Regions from separate parts of the Homo sapiens genome. Here all the other regions are linked to region 4. Evidence: promoter capture Hi-C in 16 types of primary human blood cells and fetal thymus (Javierre and others, 2016). All regions are on one chromosome and are shown on one strand. Each heading gives the region's core, a stretch centred on a gene start or on the middle of the fragment in contact. The rest is flanking DNA. Distances are from core to core; before and after follow the strand shown. Region 1 overlaps LINC01117 (long intergenic non-protein coding RNA 1117). Region 2 has its middle 32 kb from the start of LINC01117. Region 3 overlaps LOC124907910 (a long non-coding RNA gene). Region 4 holds the start of HOXD1 (homeobox D1). Region 5 has its middle 26 kb from the start of NRAL. Region 6 overlaps LINC01116 (long intergenic non-protein coding RNA 1116). Region 7 has its middle 28 kb from the start of MIR1246.

What was found. The method cuts DNA at HindIII sites, captures the fragments that hold promoters and counts their contacts. A CHiCAGO score of 5 or more calls a contact.
Region 1: a fragment that was not itself captured here is called in contact with the fragment with the promoter of HOXD1 in region 4 in 4 of 17 cell types (fetal thymus, total B cells, endothelial precursors and 1 more); the score reaches 7.8 in fetal thymus.
Region 2: a fragment that was not itself captured here is called in contact with the fragment with the promoter of HOXD1 in region 4 in 1 of 17 cell types (fetal thymus); the score reaches 5.7 in fetal thymus.
Region 3: a fragment that was not itself captured here is called in contact with the fragment with the promoter of HOXD1 in region 4 in 1 of 17 cell types (fetal thymus); the score reaches 5.9 in fetal thymus.
Region 5: a fragment that was not itself captured here is called in contact with the fragment with the promoter of HOXD1 in region 4 in 1 of 17 cell types (endothelial precursors); the score reaches 5.2 in endothelial precursors.
Region 6: a fragment that was not itself captured here is called in contact with the fragment with the promoter of HOXD1 in region 4 in 5 of 17 cell types (fetal thymus, megakaryocytes, naive B cells and 2 more); the score reaches 9.3 in fetal thymus.
Region 7: a contact is called between a fragment that was not itself captured here and the fragment with the promoter of HOXD1 in region 4, in 3 of 17 cell types (fetal thymus, endothelial precursors and naive B cells). The highest score is 7.2, in fetal thymus.

The regions. Positions count from the first base shown.
Region 1 is chr2:176,647,350-176,650,927 of GRCh38, reverse strand. The region is part of intron 2 of LINC01117 (long intergenic non-protein coding RNA 1117); the gene reads right to left. Among named protein-coding and RNA genes, the nearest start is that of LINC01117, 11 kb to the right of the region's middle. The HindIII fragment of the contact is 267 bases long and covers 2,040-2,306 here.
Region 2 is chr2:176,667,472-176,671,246 of GRCh38, reverse strand. No RefSeq gene overlaps it. Among named protein-coding and RNA genes, the nearest start is that of LINC01117, 32 kb to the right of the region's middle. The HindIII fragment of the contact is 1,253 bases long and covers 1,797-3,049 here.
Region 3 is chr2:176,587,188-176,590,742 of GRCh38, reverse strand. LOC124907910 (a long non-coding RNA gene) reads right to left here. Exons shown (of 2, transcript XR_007087314.1): 2 at 812-2,824. Among named protein-coding and RNA genes, the nearest start is that of MIR1246, 12 kb to the left of the region's middle. RefSeq lists an enhancer at 783-1,982. The HindIII fragment of the contact is 1,865 bases long and covers 356-2,220 here.
Region 4 is chr2:176,186,891-176,190,251 of GRCh38, reverse strand. It overlaps HOXD1 (homeobox D1), which reads right to left and starts at 1,584. Exons shown (of 2, transcript NM_024501.3): 1 at 799-1,584; 2 at 1-444. The coding sequence starts at 1,450. The coding sequence ends at 110. It overlaps HAGLR (HOXD antisense growth-associated long non-coding RNA), which reads left to right and starts at 1,294. Exons shown (of 3, transcript NR_033979.2): 1 at 1,294-1,438. MIR7704 (microRNA 7704) reads right to left here and starts at 1,409; the gene lies at 1,351-1,409. The HindIII fragment of the contact is 11,390 bases long and covers 1-3,361 here.
Region 5 is chr2:176,531,500-176,534,916 of GRCh38, reverse strand. No RefSeq gene overlaps it. Among named protein-coding and RNA genes, the nearest start is that of NRAL, 26 kb to the right of the region's middle. The HindIII fragment of the contact is 3,325 bases long and covers 495-3,417 here.
Region 6 is chr2:176,630,421-176,633,859 of GRCh38, reverse strand. LINC01116 (long intergenic non-protein coding RNA 1116) reads left to right here. Exons shown (of 5, transcript NR_188023.1): 2 at 735-827; 3 at 3,428-3,439. Among named protein-coding and RNA genes, the nearest start is that of LINC01116, 5.5 kb to the left of the region's middle. The HindIII fragment of the contact is 1,665 bases long and covers 503-2,167 here.
Region 7 is chr2:176,571,331-176,574,633 of GRCh38, reverse strand. No RefSeq gene overlaps it. Among named protein-coding and RNA genes, the nearest start is that of MIR1246, 28 kb to the left of the region's middle. The HindIII fragment of the contact is 2,605 bases long and covers 1-2,557 here.

The DNA.
Region 1 (3,578 bases), core at 924-3,423, 460 kb before region 4:
TTTTTCTTTCTTTTTCTTTCCTAACGTCCTGTATAAATTAAAAGCAAGCCCACAATTGACTTTCACCTGGAAACTCCATGGTCTCGCTTAACAGAGGGGAAGGAAAACCAGGGACCAATCTTTCTTTCCTCTTTTACTTCTTCTGCTCTTATTTTTAGTCATTACAAATGCTGCCTTGGCTCTTTTAAAGTGTGAAAATTCTCATTTTTCTGCAGTGCTTCAGACTCACGCACTCCTTGGGGATACAGTGAGGAGCTAACCAACTGCACATGGGAAATGAGACCATTCGTGGTTAGAAAAACTGCAGTCTTTGGTAATTTTCCACATGGAGTAGAAGCCATAAGTGACTTTTTTCTTTTCCACATAATGACTTTACGTGAGTAGTTGGTATAGAATTGTAGGCTCAGGTTTGAACATATGAATGCACTAATGTGTTTTACAAAATTTAATTTGACTTCTATAAACATTTTCAGTATTTTCAAGTGCATAATAAATAGGTTAAAACAGGGCACCCTCCCTCTGCAATCCCCCACTTCCAGACAGAATTATAAAAGGCTACTGTCTGTAAATGAGAAATAGCCCGTAAGACCCACCAGCAGGTTATGCAATATGTGATATAGACCACCAGGGGCTGAACTGAAACCACTAATACTTTTTTTCATAGCATCATTAGCTAGAGTTAAACAAGGTGTCAAAGTGGAAAGATGGGGAGGTTAACCTGGCTCATTATATTTGCATGCCTTCATTTTAATTATTTTTTGTACTAAAATTAAACACTAATATTCAATTTTATTATTTAAATGTGTTACCCACAAACAGTACATTACTTTTTATCTTTTTAAACGATTAATGCATTATTTTGTGATTATTATCTAAACTTGATTTTCAATAAATACTAAAATTCTCTTGACAAAAATGTAATTTAAATTTAAGGCTAAGGAGAGGTTATTAGTAAAAATTTTCCCTGTTGTACTTTATGAGATAAAATTGATTTTCATTTTTTGAAATTTAGATCTTAAATCAAAATCTGCCTCCAACCAAGATGAGTGAGCCCAGGGCTCATGGAGTGAGTTTGCATGCATTCTTGATCTCATGTTGACAGTCATCGGGAAAAAATATGTTCTCTTTATAATAGCTCCTTTACAATTTAGGACATTGCTAGGTTTTTACATGCACTAATATTAGTTGCCCCATGTACCTTAAGTAAAGCCAACCCAATAAATTTAGGATTGTGACTGAGAAATAAATGCCATGTCAGTAAACCTCAACCAGATACCAGAAGAAGGATTATGTGATTGTTTAGTCCAAAAATTAAGTTTCATGTCTTTAATTGGTGTCATATCCTGTCCTAAGTATGTAGTGCTTAAATCAAAGGCAACCACATTAACCTGGAAAGGAAACATAATAACAACTCCTTTCATCCCCTGCCTCAAATGTTTGTATGCTCTACCCTAATTTTTGTTAAAACACTTTCAGGCAAAGACAACAGGAAATAGTAAACATGGCAACACCATGAAAATAGTTTTCGGATGCACTATTTCTCTCCATGTTCAAAGAATCAGTTGTATAGGCTGCAGAAGAAACTGATGCATCATTAAACCTAATGCAGACAAAAACAGCCACACTTCCAGCAAAATGGATAGTTCTGTTCATTTTATAAATCTTGGTTCTAGCCAGACGAAAGCCAGGAATTAACTCGGTCTCTCACATCAATGGCCTGAAACGGTGGTGCATCACGGTAATACATTCAAAGGGAATCAGGAGTATCTAACAACAACTTTAGGAGCAGGAATGCAATTATAACTGACAGCCAGATGTCTGGTCGGGCTGCTACAACTACCCATCAAGACTGCAGATGGTCTTGAGATCTTTGCATCTAAACAGCGAGTCCAAGTGAATGATATACAGATAAACAACAATACCACAAATCATCAACACAAACCAAAAAAGTCGTTGTGACTGATAAAGATTTCAGATGTCAAGAGTTAGCCAGCTCAACTCCTTACTCTCCCCTTTCTCTTCTATCCAAACAAAAAGCTTGTTAGTGGTTGAGGGCCCAGCGGGAAATGTTTGGACACCCAGTGCCAAATGCCAGTCTTTGACTAAAGACTTCAATATACTTTAATGTTTAGATTACAGAGGCAAAAAAAAGGCTCCAGTAGAAATTACTTTACATGTGGAATATTAATAATTTGACTAACTCTATATTACATGTATTGTGCTTCCTCTTTACCTTAGAAGAGTACAGTAAAATTCAAAGAGAAAGAAAACTTAATTACCATTAAAGCAATGATCGGCATAAAGCTTTTTGTTCCTCGAATATGTCTCAAAAAAAATTTGAGGTTATGCTAGTAGATTAGATAGCGTTTCTTAACCTAGCTAAATACACATATTTCTTCATTTTCACAGATTCCGTATTATCTTGAAATACTTTTCTTTTGTATATCAGATTTGACATGAATTTGCGCTTCATAAACTACTACAAATATCAAGCCATTCTAATCCAAATGTGGATAAAGAATTTTGGGGAAAAACTTAGAAAAAAATGTCTTATTTTGTAAAGCAGTTTGAAATTTTAATGAATTTTATGGTATTAAACAGTTGCAAAAATAATGGAATTATATTCAACCTATTTATTCCTTTAGTGAGCATGGGTGGATATTTCAGTACCATCAACCATTTTGCAGTTTTCATAAGGTCTCTTCGAGCAAAAATTATGCCCTTTCAAGCAAACTCTTTTTAATGAAGTTAATCCAAAGGTTCCTAGATTAAATATTTCAAATACATTTCACTTATGTGACATTCTTCTCCAGGGCTCCAGTGTACCCTCCTATTGTTGTCGGTTCCAAACCCATTTTGAGGTCTCTGCTTTTTCCATGAGAACGTCAAAACTGGAGGCCTTTCAAAGTAGCTGCTGTGAACACGGAGGCCCCACAGCCAGCCTGACAGTCCCTCCAGTTGCTCTCAGAGACTTGCTTCACATGGATACACAGAGCAATTCTCCAGACACAGACGCATCTGATGCCCTTTCCCGAAAACAACATTTCCAGAAAATATGCTGACCATGAAGAAACAGCAGGGGTGAGAGAAGTGGCCAAAGCACTTGAAACATCTTAACAAGCACTAATTAAATGTCGTGCTTAAAAAATATGGCTGAAGAAAGCCAAATACAATAACTTCTTACAGATGGTTTTAGGAACTAACAAGACCTATAGGAAATGGCGCATTAAGATTAGTGTCCCCGAAGTCTCTTACAACCATTAGTGACTGGAGGTGCTGTGCACTTTAGAAAGAAATAATCAAAATTTGCCTGATGTGAAGCTGTTTTTTTTTTTTTTCTCATTTCTCTCTGAAGGGAACTGCGCATCTGTCAGTGCATTACACAGTCAATATTGACACGGCCAGCCAATGGAATATAAAAGGAACATTAGCGGCCTTGAAATCTATTTTTTTCTGATGGGGTACAAAGCTATCCTGAAAAACAACTGTGAGTATCAAGAAGGCAGGGACTGTGCTTCATCATATATGTATGACTATGCCAATATAGTGGGCATTTTATAACTGTTCACTTATTTATT
Region 2 (3,775 bases), core at 1,174-3,673, 480 kb before region 4:
TTTAAGCTCACAAACAACTGGATTTCACCGAGTAGGATTTTGAATATACACCAAATCTATTCAAAGCAAAACTAGTTTCTTAGCCTCAGCAGCTGCAAGAAATGTTACCTAGCAATTGAAGGCTGGAGGTTTACCCAATGCAAAGTAATGTAGCTATTTGGTGTTTTCTTAATTTTGTCATTGCAGAAAGCAAATGAAAATAATTTATGCCCCTAAGGAGATTTTTCTTCTTTCCTCCTTTCCTTTTTATTTATTGTTGCTGTTGTTAGTGGTTGAGATATTTTGAGAGAAAGTGGGGGAGGGCTGAACAATCATCTTGGTGAGCTGAGTAGATCAAAGGAATAGATTCCATGGGCTGGGCACATTCTAAATGTTCTTTGGGTTTTGATGTGCCAAAATCACACTAGAACCTGTAATTTAAATTTCATTGTCAGAACTTTATCTAGTTAACTTCTACCTTACCTTATCAGAAACAAGGTTTCTTTGAATAGTACAGAGAAAAAAAGAGGTAGAGAGAGAAATCTCCAATAAACCTTTATTTAGGATCTATAGATAAATACTCATTTCACAACTTCTGCTTGTGTTCTACACAAGCCCTCATGGCACAAAGAGAGACTTTTAAAAATTTTTAAATAAGATTCTTGAAAAGGAGTTTCAAGCTCCTTGAGAATAGTGAGTTTATTTTGTTTTATCTCTTCAGTACATAGCCTGGGTCTGGCAGTTTGTTAAATAAGCAAGTGAATGAATGAATTATGATAATACCAGCAGCATCTACCAAAACTACTGAACAAAGTTCCAGCCAGTACTAAGTGACATTCAACCAGAATTCTTTAAAAAGCATCAGCCACAAAGAAAGTTAGCCGGAGCTAGGAACAAAGCTATGCTATGGCCATACAGAGGGAATTTCGTAATGTTGCTCATCCTAGAGAAGTGATTTCCCAAAGGCAGGTCTGTGCAAACATTTTCACAGGTCCAGAGCAAAATGAGGAAATTTTCTTAAGAAAGATTTTATTTTTAGATTATAGTCTTCTCATATTATAGTATAAAAATTTCCCTTCTTGTATGAAACAAAGGAAAAAAGAGACTGGTTGTGTTCACTGTCTTTACAGGAGTGAGGTGGGAGGTAGTTAGCAATTCTGTTAGTCCTCAAACTATTTTTGGAAACTGCCAGGTTATGAAAAGCCAAGGTAAGATAATCAACGGACCACAGAACTTAGCCTCTCAGCCTGCTCTCCTGAAAGTAAATGGGACCTACAACTACAAGTCACAGTGACCTCCTATCACTCTCATGACTGCCTGCAACAAGGTAGTGAAAACATAGAACATGTCCTCCTGATGTCTCCAACTTTCTGGGTGTGATACTGATCACAGGTGAGGTTTTCACAGTCTGTTTCTAATTCATTCCTATGCTGACACAGGCTGCACTTTTAACCAAGTTTTTGCTGCTGAATGCTTCATTGAATTCTCCTTTCCTGGAGAGACTTTAGAATCACTTGATCCCCAGATTCAAACAGCATTCCAAGGCACTGGGGTTAGGGGAAGCAAAACCAAGGGCACGTTTCAAATGACAGGAAAGGCCCCTGCTGACCTCCCTGTACATGGTCCTGTTTGTCATGATGAGACGCTAATTTCAAACCAGGAAGTCTATTTAGTGAAGGAATGGAAACTCCCCACACGACACCAGGACTGTTTAAGATCACACACTCTACTCCGATCACACATTCACAGTGCACTAAAGTGGTTGAAGAAAATCACTCTGATTCTGGGCACTCCAGCTGTCTGAGAGTTCAAAAGCTTAGACCATCATGTGCTTGTTGCTATTATTCATGCTGAGAAAATCTTTTCATCTTTTTTTAAAAGTTGGTCAGAGAAACTGGGTGGTGCTTTTCCTTAAAATAACTTGAACAAAAATTAGAAATGAGATAACATGGTGACAAATGAAAACTCTACATTGTATTCATTCACTGAAAACTTTCCCAGCAATATAGGAAAAACCAGCCAAGCCTGGAAGGCAGCCTCCCTATCTGGGGAAATACTGTGAAGCTGGACAAATGATGAAACTGAGCTTTGAACAAATATACCCCTAATCCAACATAAGACATGGCTGAACAGCAAACTCAATGAGATCTTTGGTTTAGCAGAGAAATTATGTAATGTCAGAGAGCCCCAGACTTGCTTAGCTACATGTCTGAGAATGCTTAAAATGGTCCTTCCACAGCAACTAATACAGATGTACAATTCACTGACCTAGTTTTCCCAAATTGGATCAGTAGCAAATGATGATGATTTATGTCCCAAACCTTCCACCATGAGCAATCCAAAAAACATAGAATTCAAAGGGAAAAAAAATCACATGTTCAAGGGAATACAGAATACCCGGATATTGTAAATTAGGTTCCAGGGCCACTGGCTAGTAGCAGAATATATCTGCAGCATTATAAGCTGCTGCTAATCTATGAATATACAAAGAAAGAACACTGGTCTGGCACCTCAGACATTTATAAGGAACCATTCATTCATTCAAATGAACAAACCTAAGGAGAGAAGAGTCTACCTGTGAAGTTAGACCCTAATGTAGGGCATACACATTGGTATTAATATCAGATGGCATCCTAAAAAGAGGGTTCTTGTCGACTAACCAGCAATGTGTCTTAGGCAATTGATTTTGCTCTCTGGCCCTTACTCAGTTTTGTGATCTGTAAAACAGGGATTAGATTAGAGTATATCTAATGTCCCAAACATCTCTGATACTTTCTAATTCAAGTTGTTGATCAAATACCAAGAGAAGATTGTTAAGGACTAACATGATTTTCAAGATAAATTTAGATCAATCTCCTCAGTGCATACTGAACATCTTCCATCATAGACCACTGCCTTAGCATATGCGGGAAGTGGGCCAAAATGTTCAATTCCAGTCTTTAATTTGAAAGGGTCTGACACTTTGGTTCAGGAGATAGGACACATACATAAAATTGCAATACAGAGTAATCAATGCTAAATTCCAAATGTCCAGCACAGATACAGCACAGAATTCAAAGGAAGAAAAGCTTCTCCAAGGTTTAGGGCAGAAGGAATCATTTTCAAGGAACAGGTGGAGCTTTAGCTTAATTCTCTCTGAAGGTAAAAAGCTAAATTGGATAACTTCTCAGGATCCTTGCAAATCTAAAATTATCCTGTAACAACAATTAATGTTATTAATTGTTATTAATGTTAATGTTATTAGTGTAACATTAATTAATGTTAATAGTTAATATAGGCTCCACCTCTAATAGGTATAGTAATATTACTAGTACCATAAAAATTAGTTCAATTTATATAGGACTTATTTTTCTAGTAAAGGTATTTCATAATTAATTACAAATTACCTTTGAATAATTATACCATACAAGCTAACTACCTATCTTATATGTGACTTAACAACTAATTCAGGTTTAAATAATTGCTTCAAAATAAATTGAAGATGATTGTTGAAAATTATGACTTCCCAACTACAAGGATTTATTTCTTGACCTTCCAGTAGCTATCTCCGAGTACTTCTAGGGTGGAACACAGGTGAATTAAACCAGTTGTTTGGCAGCTATAAAGAATTCCTCTCTTTGCATGCCACTGACCTTTTCATTGGTAAACTGGTGGACAGGGTTAAGAGTAGACTTAACAATTCTGCCATCATCAAGCAGTTTTATCATGTTTGGCAACTTTACTCAAATCTGAAAGAACACAAAAGAAAGCTTCCCCATAGCAAGTGGTAGAAGGTTACCTGTGACATATCCCTCCT
Region 3 (3,555 bases), core at 39-2,538, 400 kb before region 4:
AAGTCTATACAGTAATTGTTGTCTTGGATGATAGCTTGTTTTGTAACCCTCTGGTAGCCAAATGAGTGTGACAGTGATGGAATTAAAATCATAACTACATTGTGCTCAAATTGTTTGTTTGAGTGACTTAATGACAGGATTCCCTTCAGCAAATGCAAAATATGAAAATATTTCAATTTTACAAGGCAAGGGAAAAATACATTTTCCTGAATGGTTCTGGAAAGGCCACCTCTATTTTCACAAGTGTGGCTGTAAAATAAACAAGCTTCATCTTTAATTTACCTTTGCTACCGCACCAAGATGCCTAGGTGTTAAGAAAAGACTGTACAGTGATGCATTTGCCAGACAAAAAGCTTTCCCTGTTATTAATGACTGGTGGCGCCCCAGTGTAATCAAAGGGCACAGCTGCAGTGATATACGGCAGTGACAAGCCTTGGGATCTTTCCTCCTCAATGCTACGAGCCTAACAGCTAGCAGTAGAGAACTCCCAGCGCTGTATATCTACAAGATAAATAGCACAAGATATGAATATACGTATGGCTTACAGTCCTGAAAAGTATTGTTATATCCTCCCACACACAATCATTCTAAATATGACGCAAGTGCATTTTTCACCATTTCAGTACAATCCTTGTTGTTTGTAAATGGCAATAGTTTTCTCGTAGAGATTTAAAACCCTCCAACTGTTCCAGTTACTGACGTCTGATTTGAAAACTGGTGCCTATGCTGCCGACAGTACAGCAGGTTTCCAGAGATTCATAACCCTTTTTACAGTGACAGGCAGCATCAAAAGAAGGAATCACCACAAGAATATACTAGAAATCATTTTTATTTTTGCTCCTCGATGATGCCAAGATGATCTAAAGGGAAAACTGCGAGTCACTCATGATATGAATTTGACATGAAGGAATCCATAAGAAAAATTCACTGATGTTTTTATTTCCAGCTATTAAGCCATTTTTTCTCTCTCCTGCTTTGAATTTCTGACCAGTAAGTGCCATATTTTGCTTTGTTACGGGTTCAAGAAATGCATTTAATTGGGAGTTATGACCAAGGTTAAATAATCAGCATGAAATGAGGTTAGCTTTCTTCACTTACTCAGGCGTGAATTCTTCTAGAAACATTTTATAATTACTGATTAGGTTTCCATTAAAAATAAAATGAACAAAACCACAGAATGGTCTTTTCCTGGATCAATAGCAAAGACACGTCCATGCACACACAGAGGAAGTCAGCGCAGCTCCATGACCTTTTCATGAACTTTCCGGGAGACGGAAAGATCATTCAAAGGGCAGAGGTCAGCATTCATGCTGGTCACAAACAAAAATCAGATTTTGCTTTGCAATGAAGGCTTTTACCTATGAGTGCAAATTCAATACTATTATTGCATATTTTCCTCCATTATCAATGACAGAATAAACTGCTTTTGTATTTGCGGCACGTGTTAACATTTACTAACTCATATTACTTTGCTATCTTTATCAAGCATCACAAAATGAAAGATGAGATTTAAAAACTGGAAAACTTCAGTCAAGATGGGAATCCTCAGCTCATCCAAAGGACTTTGCCATGCAAAAGATGCCCCTCTCTGGGTCATTGCTCCCCTCACCGACCCCAACATGCATAGCACAGAGGGAAGGAGGATGCCAGAAAGACAAGATAATAGTGAATTAAGGATGGAGCTTTGCTACAAATAAATTACACAGGTCTTGAGTGGGGAACGTGAGTGCTGCTCCTCTGTGGACGCAGGTTCACCTCACACAGAAACAGTGCAGCTCTCTAGTTTTGCCCCAGAGGATGTTGAGGACTGAAGAGACAAAGGTAGGAATAACTGGGAATCTGAAGCATTTTTAAAAAGACCCTCATTTCCAACAGTGCTGACTCAAATCAGCATCATTGTGAAACCTGAAAACTCAACATGGTTTCTGGGTGGAAGGTGTCCACATAGAGGTGCCAATTGGCAACTCCTAATGTCAGTGTTCTTAGACAAAGGGGAAGCCAGATAGACTGAAGCCATGTGTTTGTTAGAATCAGTTAGGAAGTCAAAAGGCACCTTTAGGAGCTTTAAGAAATCAGGCGAGTATCAAAATATAGAGATCCTACTCTTCTGGAAATCCAATATCCTAACTTGATTAAGAAGAAAAAGCATTTTCAAAGATCTGGATGCAACCACTACAAGTCACAGATGGCTCTGTAGCACTCTTCAGACAATGCAAAGCTTAGAGAGTTCTGAAGCCTTTTATAGAAATAAATTCACATTTGACATATAGTGAAATTTGGGCCCTAATTCTTTTGTGTTCAAATGGGTGTCCTAAAGACACACATTATTCCTGCCTTTTCATGTTCTATTTTCCTGGATACAGCATTTGATTTTCTTAATCACTTGACGTATGACATAGGTGAATTGAAAAATAGCCCAAGGCTATTCGTAACAGTAATAGCTTCATCCAACTTTAATTCTTAATACTGTGTGCTAAATCGGAAGTTAGCTTTTATTAAAACAAGTTTATCTACGTGGGCATAGGGGACATAGGGTAGTGCTGAGAGGCTGGATGCCTACTGAGCCTGTAGAACTTGAAAATTTTAGAAAGAGACTTGGGAGGGCATTCCTTTACCCTCTTTTGTTTTTTAGAAAAGGAAACCAAGCCTTGGTGAGTGAGTGTGTGTGTGTGTGTGTGTGTGTGTGTGTGTAGTACTGATCAATTAGAGGGTAGGCCTTATCCAATCATAGTGGATTGTGGGTCTTGGAGAGGGAATCCAGGAAGTCTTCTGCAGGTATCAGTTCAATCCTTTGGCTACTGAATTGTGGAATGTGGAGGACATCCTGGAAAACAAACAGTTAGTAAACAGTCAGGTAATAGATAACATAAAGTTTCCTCCTAGTCCTGGGAGAAAGATGGTGTGTTCATTGAAAGCTCATCTGCCTGAGTTAGGATGCTGACTCCACCACTTACAAGACGAATGACTTTGGACAAGTTATTTAACTTCTCTAGGCCTTGCCTCAGTTTATTCATTTGTATAATGGAGCTGGTAATAGTAACCTCACAGGATCACACAGCAAAGCATATGGATGCTGTGCTAAGTGTTTTAAGGTTAACTCTTCAAGTATCCTCAACAACTCTCTCAGGTGAACGTTTTTTATTATCTGAATTTTATAGATGAGGAAACAGAAGCTCTGGCAGTGTGATTAACTTGTCTATCTCACATCTGGTAAGAGGCAGAGTAGGGATTCAACCCAGAAGTCCCACATCAACCACAGCCTTGTGTCAACCAGAGTGTCTCACCCTAGAATCCGCATTCAATATTGATCCTAAAGGCCCTGCTTAGATGGCCTCCCACTGACAGCATTATTTACTGAAAATAAATAAGATGCTTATAAAAGGACTTAATGTGATGAATTCTGCCTACTGTTTTTTCCAGAGGTGTTGATTTGTCCAAGTTTACGCAACCAATTCATGAAAAAAAATCAGGTTAAAGGCCCATCTTCTGGTCTTTGGTCCAGTGTCCTATCCACCCTACACACTGCCTTGAATAGAGCTTTCAAAACAAATGGTA
Region 4 (3,361 bases), core at 335-2,834:
CATTTTTGTTCTCCCACCTCCATCCCAAACTGAGCTCCTAAGTCTAGATAGGGATGGGGGTCGCCTGGGACTTCTGCAGGCCACAGTTTTTCGGCCCCAAGTACCGGCCTCACGAAGGCTCTTGGGACTGAGAAGGGCTGCCGGGGTTCTTGATAAACTTAGTGGGGGTTGTTCCAGAGAGGGGAAGTTGGAGGGGAGCCACAGGAATGGCCGTGGCCAGAAGCCCTTCTCGTTCCCTTTTCTTCTGTTTCATCCTGCGGTTCTGGAACCAGATTTTGACTTGCGTGTCATTCAGGTGCAAGCAGTTGGCTATCTCGATGCGCCGGGCTCGAGTTAAGTACTTATTGAAATGAAACTCTTTTTCCAGTTCTGTCAGTTGCTTGGTGCTGAAATTCGTGCGGATCGCGCTGGAGGGGCTAGCGGCCCCATACTCGGCGAGTTTGCCTGCAACGTAAAGACAGGGCGTCAGCCAGGCCTGAGGCCGGGGACAGAATGTGGGTGAGCAGTGGAGCTAGTTAGAATCAAAGTCCCAGCGCAGCCCTCCTGGGTCCCTAGGAACAGAATTTGTACCAGGAGAAGTTCCACGGAGAGCTCCTTCCTGAAATTTTCTCAATGCCTGGCACATTTTCCGAATCTGTACTCGAGGCAGACTCCATGGAATTCGCCCGGGAACGCGTCTCCTCCACAAAACCCAAACCGCTGTCTGGAAAGGCAGCGACACCACGCTCCCAGCGCATTTCCGCGGGGGAGGCTCCGTCCCCAACCCCAGGTGGCCCCATCCAAGGCCCGCGGACTTACCTTTCTTAGAGGCATTCCTCTTCACTTTCATCCACTCGAACGTGCTGAAGGCGGCAGGGAGGCCGGAGGCGGGAGAGACGGACTTGGGGTAGGTGCCTGGGGCCGGGGATGCGGTCTGGAAAGCACCAGGGTGGCCGTCGGCTGACGCTTTGAGACAAGCCGGAAAAGGGCCGGGTTCGCCGAAGGCCGCGTAATCCACCTGGCCGCTGAGGAGGAAAGAGCCGCCGCCCGAGAAGACGGCCGAGGTGGCGTAGTGGACGTGAGACCCGCCGTCGTCGGCCGCCCGCCCCAGCACGCCCGGGAAGTCGTACGCCGGCCCGGACCCCAGGAAGCCGTAGTCCGCGCCCCCAGCTGCCGCGGCAGGTGCGGCACCAGGTTCGTAGGCCCCCTCCAGGGTGCACTGCGCGTACTGGGGCGCGGCCGGAGGCGGTACGGACGGCCGCGCGGGGGCGGCCGGGGGCGAAGGCGAGGGTCGGGCGGCGGCCAGGGGCAGACAGCTGACGAAGGCGCCGTCGCCGTTGCCCAGAGGGAAGGCGGGCTGCAGAGCCACGGGCCGGGCGTCGGAGCGGCAGAACTTGGGTGCCAAGCTGAGCACGTCGCCGCCGACCCCGCCGCTGCTGCTGCATGACACGTACTCCAGGTAGGAGCTCATGGTTCGGGCCCCACCTTTCTGAGGGCGCAGGCCGGGGCCGGAGTACGGAGCCGGGCAGAGGCTGAGCAGGACTGCCGCCGTCTGCGCCGCTCCGCCAGCCCTCTCTACCCGAGCTGCCCTCTCCAACCCATGGCGAGTGAGCCGGAGGTAAATAGTGGCCTAATATACCGGCGGGGGCGGCCACGTGGCGCTGGCCGGCCAATGGGCGGCCTCTCCGCTCGGCCCGGTCGGCGCGCCGCTCCTCGCGCCTGCCCCGCAGCCAAGTTAGCCAAAGCAGCCCAGGGCCGCCGCCCAGCGCCCCCGAGCCCCGAGGAGAGCCGTCGCGACCGGGGGCTGCCTGGGCAAGGGCGGGGCGAGAGGGCAGAACGCCTGCTCTCGGACAGGTATTGGGCGAGGTGGGGGGAGAAAGGCAGGACTGGACGCTTGGGTGAGGGCCCGTGGATGCAGCGGGGCGAGCCGCTTCTGCTCTGGATCGTGGGGGGGGCTAGTCCCTCGAGGGCGGAGTGTGGGCGTCGCGGCATGGAAAAGGTTAAATGGGAGCGTGACGCGCGGCCGGTGGAGACTGCTCTTCGCCCACCTCCAGGACAGATAAAGTTATTCCTCTTCCCCTCTTCTGAGTCCTCTGCGCTTTCGGTTTGCTTGGCGCTGATGTTATCCCTCTTCTAAACCTAGAGCAGATGTTTGGTTTTTTCCTTTCTTCCCCCTTTCCTAGGACTCATGGAACTACATCTTATGCTGTGAGTGCTGTGTGCCTAGGGCGGGACAAAATTTTCACTTTTTGACTAGGCTTCCTTTTAACGTGACTTTGCAGCTTTCTTCTATCCCTCGCAATTTGTGGCGGCGTGATGAGGGCCAGTGTTGTAGTGCCAGATTTTGATAAAGTTTCTGCCTTGTGGGGTGGTTTAGCAGATTTTCCCCTCCGGCTGGGTTGTTGGAATAAAGAATCCAGAGTGGTGGTGGAACACTCCTTATGCTCCTTTCTGGGAGACTGGCACAGGCACCGGTGCGGCGCTTGCTTTCACTGAGGAGCTTGTCTGGAGGGCGCAAGGGCTTACCGGGGACGGGTGAGATCTCAGAGGTTTAGATGGACTTGTACCTCGAAGCAATTAGAGCTTCTGCTCCATCAGATAAGTGCTGCATCGTCTCTTGTGAGTGAAATCTGAGGGCTCACAATGTTAATGGGCTCACGTCTTTCCCTTGATAATATGGTTTTGTTTACTGAGTGTAGAGAGACGGGAAATAAAAGTGCAATTGCCACAGGAAATGAAGAGTAGAAAGGTTACAAAGACCAGCTTTACATTGACAAACTTTCCAACTTCCTTTAGTATTTCTTTTAATGTTCCCTTTTGAGGGGACTGTAGGAAAATTACAAATTAGATAAATAGAGGTTATTTACACACAGTAGTTATGAAAGAGGGTGGTTTCCTAAAACCCTGTGTGAATAAAGACTCTAAAGAGTCTACTCAGAGCTTATATCAAGTGCCCTTGAAAAGTTAATCTATTACAGCCTCTAAGTTATGGTAACCGAGGTTTTATCATTGTTTTACTGATTGACTTGTCATAAAAGAGCGATTGAGCTGTTGTTGCCTAAATTTCCACTCTGAGGAAGTCTTTAGAATAGGCGCCATCACAGCCCAGGGAGCCAGTTCCTTCCAGGGTTGTGGACTTGTGAATAAACAAAGCCCTACCAAAATGTGGACTACTGATGGACCCGAAGTTGCTGCAGGATGGGGGAGGGATGTCCCCAGGTTGAGGGGAGCCAGTAGAGGGTGGATGCCTAGGAATCAGCACAAAGTTAAAGAGGTCTGTGGTTCCTGCACTGCTGGAGTTCTTGAGTTTGATTGGAAATGGAATACCTGTGCTGAAAATAGCCCTTCAATCTTGATTTTGCTATTTCAGTTGTGCTATAGC
Region 5 (3,417 bases), core at 908-3,407, 340 kb before region 4:
GAAGCCATAAACAGAAGCTAAGTGATGTCCTTCCTGCTCTGGGCTGCTGGACACCAGGCAAGTCACTTACCCCTCCGAGCCTTAAACCTGGAAACAGGACAGCAGCCAGACCCTACTCAAGGAACAACCAACAAAACCTATGTGAACATGCTTTGAAAAACATTAAGCTTGGCCGGGCATGGTGGCTCACGCCTGTAATCCCAACACTTTGGGAGGCCGAGGCGGGTGGATCATCTGAGGTCAGGAGTTTGACACCAGCCTGGCCAACATGGTGAAACCCATCTCTACTAAAAGTACAAAATTAGCCAGCTGTGGTGGTGCAATGCATGTAATCTCAGCTGCTTGGGAGGCTGAAACAGGAGAATCGCTTGAACCCGGGAGGTGGAGGTTGCAGTGCGCCAAGATTGCGCCATTGCACTCCAGCCTGGGCAACAAGAGCTAAACTCCATCTCAAAACAAAACAAAACAAGAAAAGAAAAGAAAAACATTAAGCTTGACATAGATGAAATCATTTATCCTAGCCTATAACAGAAAATACAGATCACGGAGAGCTAAGACTAAACCAGGTGACTTTGGTTTGCCTGTACCCATTTTCTTTCTTATAAATTCATGCCCTTCTCTTCCCGCATTTTTAGAACATTCTTAGTAATTTCTCCACATAAGCAACCCTGATTTTTTTTTCAGCTTTGAAATTGTCTGCAGGGGCTTCTTTAAGCTGCACTTGCTTTGTCCTCTACAAAACCACATTCTGTTAAAAGAACCATCAAGCACGGACCATGGCTAGGGTCAGAGAGAGCTAGAAGTCCTCTCTAGCTCTACCCATCTGCTCCTTCCCCTACTCTCTTTTTTTCCTGATCCCTTCTGCTTCCTCTGGACAGGAAACACATAGCCTCAGCCATATGATGCCTCTCCATCCTACAGGAAGCTGGAGCACCAAGCTGAGATCACAAGTGCTGGGGCCTTCATCGCAGGCACCTAATTGTTTAAGTAGCTTTTGATCACTTTGCAAAAATATCCCTCTCTCCTTCTTTGTAGCTGCATTGAATGAACATATCCCCTTATGTTTTAAAGAGTCCTTTCTTTGCAGGAAATGAAGGGGAGAGGAATATTAGTTATCTGTATTGCTAGGTGTATTGTGAAACTCTGGATGGCATAATACTTGGCAAACAGGACTGCAAGTCTCTGAAGTTAATCAAGTTGTTGAGGTTTTCAGGATCCAATTATTGGCAGAATTTCCCCACACTCCTAATGCCAATTTAGATGTCTACATGTCTAGGGAACAGTAAATATAAAACATGAAACTGCAGCGTTAAGAAAGAATTGTGGCTGCAGTCCTGTCTAACCAGCGTGCTCCCTATTCTCAAAACTTCCCTTTGACTAGATGGGGAACAATAAATATATATGCCCTCCTCAGTCCTGGAAAGAGCCACCTTGCTGTTTTCCAAAAGGAGATCATGACCTATAACAGAAAATATAGGTCATGTAGAGGTAAGACTACACAAGGTTATTTGGGTTTGCTTGTACCCATTTTTTTCTTATAAATTCATGCTCCTTTCTTCCAACATTTTTAGAACATTCTTAGTGGTTTCTCCACATAAGCAATCCTTACTTACACTTGCATGCCATATCATTGATAACAACCAAATTTATAGTCTGTAGATCAGAGACACAGGCTGATTAGGAACAGATTCATTTGGATTTCGATCTGCACTTTGCATGATGGAAAAGCTAAAGCCTATTGCAGCACTCTGTTTAGATATAACTCTGATTCCATGAACTGTCTCTAGTTGTTACAATGAGGCCTATAAAAGGGCAATCCTAAATAAGCCTGAAAATAATGTCTTGGCACAAGGTGCAGTATCAGATTTTACCAGCGATACCTATAAAGTTCTTTACCAGAATATATAAAGGTAGTGTGCTAGCCAAGACTCCTTTTCATTTCACTAAAAGAATAATGGCCAAGTTAGGATGTTAAGACTTATCATCAAATGTTTTCTGTTGCTTCCCCCAAGGAAAAGTAACAGTGTGATTATCTCATCTTGCTAGAATTACTCTGTTGTGTGAATAGGGGAAGAAAGTTTGGGAAGGGGGAAATTAAAGCAGGAAAAATAATGGAAGGCTATGAACCCTAATACTAATTAAATTATGCCATTAGAAAATGTAATTCTTCCTAAAATCCAGACTATGTAATGTTGGTAGGTGAACAAAACTCCCTGGATGCCATGGAATGAGGAGGAAATGGCTAAAGCCCACAAGACCCAAAGAAAAGGGTCTGTGGAATCTGAAGGCACTGGTGTTTTTCCTGTCATCCTTATGAGTCTAAATTGTGGAGGATATGAACAAACAAAAAGCCCAATGAGACTATTTATGAGGAGAAGCAATAAAATCCACCAGATAATGTATGACAGAGAAGGGGAAATGAACTTTCCCAAGTAGAGTATAATGTGCTCTTCATGGGTGCAATGCACAAGATTAACGATGCCACCCTCAGACTCCTCAGTGGCATTTCAGGACCTTACAATGCAGCTTCCTTTCATTTCATTGGGATATAAATAATTGATAACTTGAAGGGACCTGAGAAACCCACTGCAACTGAACACAGATATTTTTTATGACATCAATTACAGGGCTAGTGATTTGATGAGAAAAGGAAAATATCTCAAACTACACTTTAATGATCTCTACCAAGAACCCCTAGTGTTCCAAATGAAATGTGGGTCTCTGGGCCTGGAGTTCTTTTTCTCTCTCTCTCCATTTTTCCTCCTCAGAGGGAATATAAGTTATAGCTGAATAGAAGAGATGGTTAATTATTTTCATGTCTGTACTTTGCAGTAGTGGGTTTTAGGCCTCCACATTCTAATACAGAAGGAAAGGCTTGAGAGAGTTGAGGCTCTGGGAGTTGCGGGGGCGGAGTTCTCTTGTGTGTGCCACATCAGGGCCGCCTGTTACATGACAGAGGTGTTGTGGAGTTAGGCCTGGCAACTAGAGCCATGATCATAGTTGAGCTTGTCATTTATGGCATTACAACACCAGGACATGTTAAAATGATATGGGAAGCAGTACCATTAAGGCTGTTGAAAGGAAGTCAGAGTTCAAGTATTTGTGCATGAGGCACTTTATGTGGTGACGACTTCTGAATTTATAGTTGTCAGGGCAGGAGTAGATGTTGATTTGGTCTGAGAACAGGTCTGTTCACGCTTGTTTCTGGTTGATCGTGAAGTCCAGTTCATTTTACTTTTTTCATAGCAAAATTCCTGCAAGGCTGCTACTGCTTTATGGAAAAGGTTCAGAACCATACCTGGAAGGTTATCCAAAGACTCCAAAGAGGTAAGGCAGTGAGAGCTGTGCTAAATCCTCATTGTGCATTGGTCCTAAGGGACATGTGCTATGAGGTCATATTGGGATCAGGGCAGAGAG
Region 6 (3,439 bases), core at 86-2,585, 440 kb before region 4:
ACTCCATGTTCCCGGGCTAGAGTTTCCCAGCTCACTGAATGCATGATACCTGCACCTCTGGGACTCTCCTCTACAAGTTAGTGCCTGCAGATCCCCTGTTCCAAGCTTCATTTCTCTAGGTCAAAGAGCCTAAAAGAAAAGCCCGGGCCGGGCGCGGTGGCTCACGCCTGTAATCCCAGCACTTTGGGAGGCCGAGGCGGGCGGATCACGAGGTCAGGAGATCGAGACCATCCCGGCTAAAACGGTGAAACCCCGTCTCTACTAAAAATACAAAAAATTAGCCGGGCGTAGTGGCGGGCGCCTGTAGTCCCAGCTCCTTGGGAGGCTGAGGCAGGAGAATGGCGTGAACCCGGGAGGCGGAGCTTGCAGTGAGCCGAGATCCCGCCACTGCACTCCAGCCTGGGCGACAGAGCGAGACTCCGTCTCAAAAAAAAAAAAAAAAAAAGAAAAGAAAAGCCCGGAGCCATACACTCACCTGGTTGAAGCCATAAAGAGGTAAGCTTTCATAACGTAGGCTATATATCAAAATTCATAGCTTTTTAGAACCGGAGTAACTAGTGCTCAGGCATTAGAGTCTCAGGCTAGAGCAAAACACAGCAACTGGTGCCAAATGTACGCTAGTGGCTGAAACCCATTTAAGTAATAAACAAACAAATGTCCTTTTAAGAATGTGCTATTATTTTTATTTAAGAATGCATATGACTTTATCGCCCCTTATGATGTGAATCTTACAGTTCAATATTTCAAGTGAAAATCTGCCTGTTCGAAAAGAAAATATTCACAAATGAGCAGTGTATTAGAAGACAACTGAATTGCTTCTAAGAATGGTGGGTATGCTAATTTTTACCAAATGATACAACATGTGCATGCCAAAGCTCTTTGTAAACTATAACACACCTCCAAATGAAAGCAATTTGCATATATTTTAATAAACTTGTCTGCCTTTACCACATCCACCAACTAATCCTTATGCTCCCACTGCAAAGACTCTCCTCTTTTTGGAGAGGAACACCAATTGTTTGAAAGCCTGGACTTTCAAACAATCTTAAGGCATCTTCATAGTATCCGTCCTTAAGAGTGCTTTCATCTTAATATTAGGTAAACATTTAGAAGATTATGAACTTTGGGGACTTTCTTTTCAGAGAACTGAACACGTGTATATAAAATTACAATATCCTGATAAGTGAGGGGAAGAAAATAAAAATAGGTGTCAATACAGTTATGGCTTAAGATCTTGATGAAATTGAGAAGAAAGTAGAAATCAAATGCATCAAAGGAAGAACGGTCAGACTGAATTCTGTTTGTAATTTTTTCAAAATGAACTGAAATGCAGTTTTTCTGACTATATGTTTTCTTTTATGGACATTAATCACTTTGATTCATTTAATTTCTCTGGAAGAAACTGTAGCTTTTGTAACAGAATCTGCTCTATTGGGTTCTGTATGGGCACCTACCGGTTTGCTTTCTAGCCAGTATCATGTGAATTGTCTAGAGAAAATGCCTTTAGCAAACACCTTCAAAAAGCATCCATTCCAAGGGCACACCTCTTGTGTCTCTCACAAAGCAAGTGGTACTATGTCTAGCCAAGGAGGCAGACTCAGATTCATGCATTTATCTCAGGTTTTTTGGTGACCTTCTTCCTAGATCCTGCTCTTGGCAACTGTAAGCCAAGTGTACATAAGTATTAGAATGGATTCTCTAGGTACCAAGTGAAAATTCTATCTCTAGTCACATGCTCCTGCACCTTTCATGTGGGAAAAATGTTCCAGTCTTTCCTTGATTACATCACAGATGATACGAGAACAGGACATGGGACAGGGAACTGCTAAACAGCTGGATATCTCTGGAAACTCAGAGCACTTAAAAACACTTTGAAGCCATGCAGCTGCTCTTTTTTTTTTTTTAAATTGTCTTCAGTGAAACTCCAAAACCCCAATAATATCTACCTTAAAAGCATCAGGAGTATTTTAATTGGGCAATAACCATCCATATTTTCCTTCTGATAAATTAAAATGAATTAAGAATGAAATTTTATGATGATTATAAAGTATATTACTGACCCAAGGGACAAGAACAATTATGAAAAATATGTCCTACATATTTGGCATGAATATGAATTTAGACTTTAAACCATTCATCTTAAATGCTCAAGCATCTTATTAAAGCTTATAAAATAATATTCACATAATAACAGAGTAACTTATAATCATGATTGATATTATATCATCAATATTGCAGCAGGCTTTGTGCCAAATACTGAAATTGACTTGGTCTTTGCCTGTTGGACTTAGAATAAAAATAAATACATTATTAAAAAGATGAAACATGGTAAAAGATTTTGTGCATTTGAGATTTTTTTTTCTTTCTCCAATTAAAATTATTCACCATGAGAACGAAAGGTGATTTTTGAAAAACCTGGAAAACCTAGTGAGTTGGAATTGTACTACTAAATGTTGGAAGATCTGATCAAAATTTAACTTTAATAGCCAGCAGCTGTTTGAGGACAAGTTCACCTTACATGAATGTGGGTGGTCATTTGAGGGTAACCCACCAAGCTTAGCCTAGCGGTGGCCAGGCCCTAAAATAGGAGTCATCTTGGAGAGCAAGAGCATTTCTGTATTTGAGTTAATGCTACCCACCAGCAATCAAGATCAATTAACTCTTGTAGTAAACTTTTTAAATGAATTGGAGATGACTACAGAAATTGCCAAAGACAATGTGGGCAAAAATGGATGGGCTAAGTGAAGGGGCTGCCTGTATCAGCATTTACTTAGGCCCAGCCCCACAAAGCCCTAGCAGTTGCCATTCAGACACCTGTATGTTAACATTAAGACCTTTAGAGCATATGTTTAACTGTGAGTATTTTCTTCCACATAGGTATTGGCACTTTTTAGCATGACCTACCTTTGTGTGTCATGCTAAAAAGCATATATGACTAATAGAACACACACATTTAACTTATTATGGGCCTGGGTTTCCCGGGTTTCAGCTTCAGTGTATGTCCCCTGGCAGGTTTCTTAACTGGTCTGAGCCTAAGTTTCCTCATTTATAAAACAAAGGCAGTAAGTGGTGCCTTTTTGCAATATTAAAATTAGTATTAAATGGCATAACGTTCACAAAATATCTGGAACAGTTTGCCATCAGTAAATATCTGCTACTGCAGTTGCAAGGGAAAAACAAGATTGAATCTTTGTTCTCAGTTTCTCATTATATAAAATTTTAGAGATTATTTAAAGAAAAGAGAGAGAGCATCTAAATGAACAGTTTCAATAGCATCTTGTTTATATTCAGAAATACAGCCCTGAACTCAAACTTGAAACTTCAGTGTTAGCCAACCTTCCCTCCTCCCATCACCACCTGAAGGAAAATATCTTTGTGTAGCACAAAAGAACTTAATTCTAATTCTTTTTTTTTCCTTTTAAAACAGGGTCTCACTCTG
Region 7 (3,303 bases), core at 6-2,505, 380 kb before region 4:
ATACACAACCTTTTATTATTGGCCTTATTGCATTAGCTTGTCGGACAAAGAAGAAAAGGCTAAAGCAGAGAGTTCCCCTGCATTCCATCATTTGTTTGCATGCAGGATTTTATTTGACAGTCCTGTATTGTTTTAGATGTAGATAAAAATTATTCAGACATATGGCATCATATGAACTTTTGAACTGCCAATTGCCAATGTGTCCTAAAGGACTGGAGGCATTTACAAATTCTGCTCTACCTACAAAGACAGAAATGCTATATGGACGAGCCAATAAGGTCTCCTGGGGGAACTGTATTTTAGAATCAACATAATCTTGCATGTTCTCCTTGACCAGTTTTTATGCAGGGGAGGAGTAAAATTGAGAGATGGAACATTAGCAACTGAGATGATTTTTAGCCAAAATGAAGGTTGAATATTTGAGAAATTAAAATGGAAAAACAGTTCACTTTCTCTGAGAACCCGCATGCACAGCATGAAGTAGTATGGAGCCACATGGTGTCCCTTCGTCCCTTCATGTGCAGAATATTTTTCTGGGTGTCTGAGATGCAGTGAGATTCAGTTCCAATGAGAACATGTGCATAAAACACAAATCCACATCAAAGTAGCTCCAGCCTTGAGACTACTGGGTTGGAAGGAACTGTAAGACTTAAAACATATAAAAGCATTTAGGAAGATGAACTATTAACTTTATCTATTTAGGCATTTTAATCTTTTGCATCTTAAATGCAATTGGGCTTTTGGAACTGGGAAATTGCTAATCAGCATGTTGGGTAAATGTTTCTATTTTAAAATGTGCACATTTAGAAATAACAGCTGGCCATAAAGTACATATTTATGTTTGTGATTTAATGTATCACAAACTTTATACTTTATTTCATTCAGCTTCACAAAGAGACCACGCTATTTTTTTTGCAAGCATTATATAACTTTTGCAGCAGCTTTATGACTCAAGAAACACATACAGCAATAAATCAGATATGTATACAATGCCTAGTTTTTCAAATTTGAAATGTCTATTAATGAAAAAATGTAAGGATTATATCCATCTCTTACACTGTCCTAACTCATTTAAAGATTCGACTGAAAATTCCTGTCCATTAATCAGGAAAAATCTGCACAGAATTATACCGATTGTCATTTGAAACACTGCACCCTTGCTTCAAAGGAAACATATTGTGACTAAGGGCACAACAACAGCACAACTGAGTGTTAACCCTTCACAAACCAGCGTGCACATTGTCTACAACCTCATAAAAATAGCTACACAAAATAAGGAAATAGCTATGGCATCCTGCGGTAAGTGTGCAGGAACACGCCTTGGGACTACTGAGGTGGCTGCTGGAGGAGAAAGATGAAAACAGGATGTTAAATGGTTGCAGCAGTGGTGGCAGCTTTGAGAGTTCTCTGGCCCCATCTTCATCGTTAGATGAGCTTTTTCTTAAAAAGGTGGTCTCTAGAGGGTTCTTTTCAAATATTTAAATCTAAATGATCTTAAGGAAGACCACCTGAAAACATCCCAGCTTTGTCAGACCTCTTATAAATTTATAGCTTCTAAGGTAAGCCTTCCTGACAATGTGGCCAGCACGCCACTCACTAGTGAAGGCCTTTGTCAGTGCAGGAAAATGTTTGCATTTGTCAGAGTAAGTTTAGTTCCAAGGTATCATAGCTAAAAAGAGCATTGGATTCTCTTGTGCTGTCCTTGGCAAGAAAAACATGACAGAGAATGTCCATATGAGCAGTTTCAAAATTTAAAAACTAGAAAAGACTGTGAAACTAAATAACTATTGAAAAATGGGAAATTTAGGGTGGGGCATGGTGGCTGATGCCTGTAATCCCAGCACTTTGGGAAGCCAAGGCAGGCGTATAGCCTGAGGCCAGGAGATCGAGACCAGCCTGGGCAACATGGTGAAACACTGTCTATACTAAAATACAAAAAATTAGTCGGGTGTGGCGGCATGTGCCTGTAGTCCCAGCTACTCAGGAGGCTGAGGCAGGAGAATTGCTTGAACTCAGGAGGTGGAGGTTGCAGTGAGCCAAGATCGCACCAATGCACTCCAGCTTGGGCAACAGAGCAAGACTCTGTCTCAAAAAAAAAAAAACAAGGGGGGGCGGGAGGGATTTATACAGTCTAACGCAGCTATTGCTTAAAATACATATAAATATATCTACAAAATTATTAAAATTAAAAAATGCCTACAGACACATGGATAATATACATGTCATTTTCAAGTCAAATGATAACAACAGTGAAAGTTCTCTCCAGAAATAAAAAATGCTAAGCAACTGAAAAAATGTTATTTCTTCAACATTCTCCTTGGACAAAAGGAGAATGGGATAAAAGGTAACTGAATTCATCTTATGAATGTCTTTAAAACTGTAAGTTGAGAAAATATGTCTTTCAAAAGAGTTGACAGAAAACAAGGGCAAAAGGTTCATAGAAGAAAATGTAAAGTGAAGACATGGGGGCAGAATGGTGAAATGTTTTTATAAAGGACTACCTAATCATAGTGACAAAGGTAGATTCAGAATTATTGGGGAAGAAAGGAGAAAAGCTTAGAAAGCCAACACATTAATTAGTAAGTTTGAAACATAGATAATAAATATTATTAAATAAATTGTTTATATGTTCAAACATCTATCTATATATGTATATACTGTATGTAATATATTTTACCATTTTATGCTAACAAAGAATTTTTCTAGCAAAATATTACCAGCGTATCTTAGGTACATATAATTTTAGTGGATTTCATCCCCCTTGAGAATATGTTCTAGATCCCAGAGAATTTAATACAGTTTCATCTAATTTATGTTTTTAAAAATATACTCATGTTTGGAAGGTATAAAGAACAATAATTACTCCAGCAATATTGCTGAACTGAGAATAGAAAGAAATGAAAACTAATATAAAAGTCATAATGGCAAAATGTGTTGAAGTTCAGCAGCCAAGAGGGAAACACAATTGTAAGCTCAGTTGGTCAGGTCACAATGAAACTGATAAAAAAATACAAAGATTAATTACAAAATTATTGGGAAACGTCAAGTAATGTATGAATCATTGACATAGGATCAGTCAGATTCCTCTGGTATTTTGCAGCAGAAAAATGAGAAGAATGGAACTAAAGTCTTCAAATACATTTAATTGCATTCCTTTTTGGATATGTAATATCAATACAAAAAGTTTCGATCAATACTGTAAGTCAAATGAAACATATGCCATGGTCAAATGAAGCATTTGGTTGTAGTATATGAAACTGCCATTTTGTAGGTCAAAATTGGTTGAACTTTAGCAATTTCATA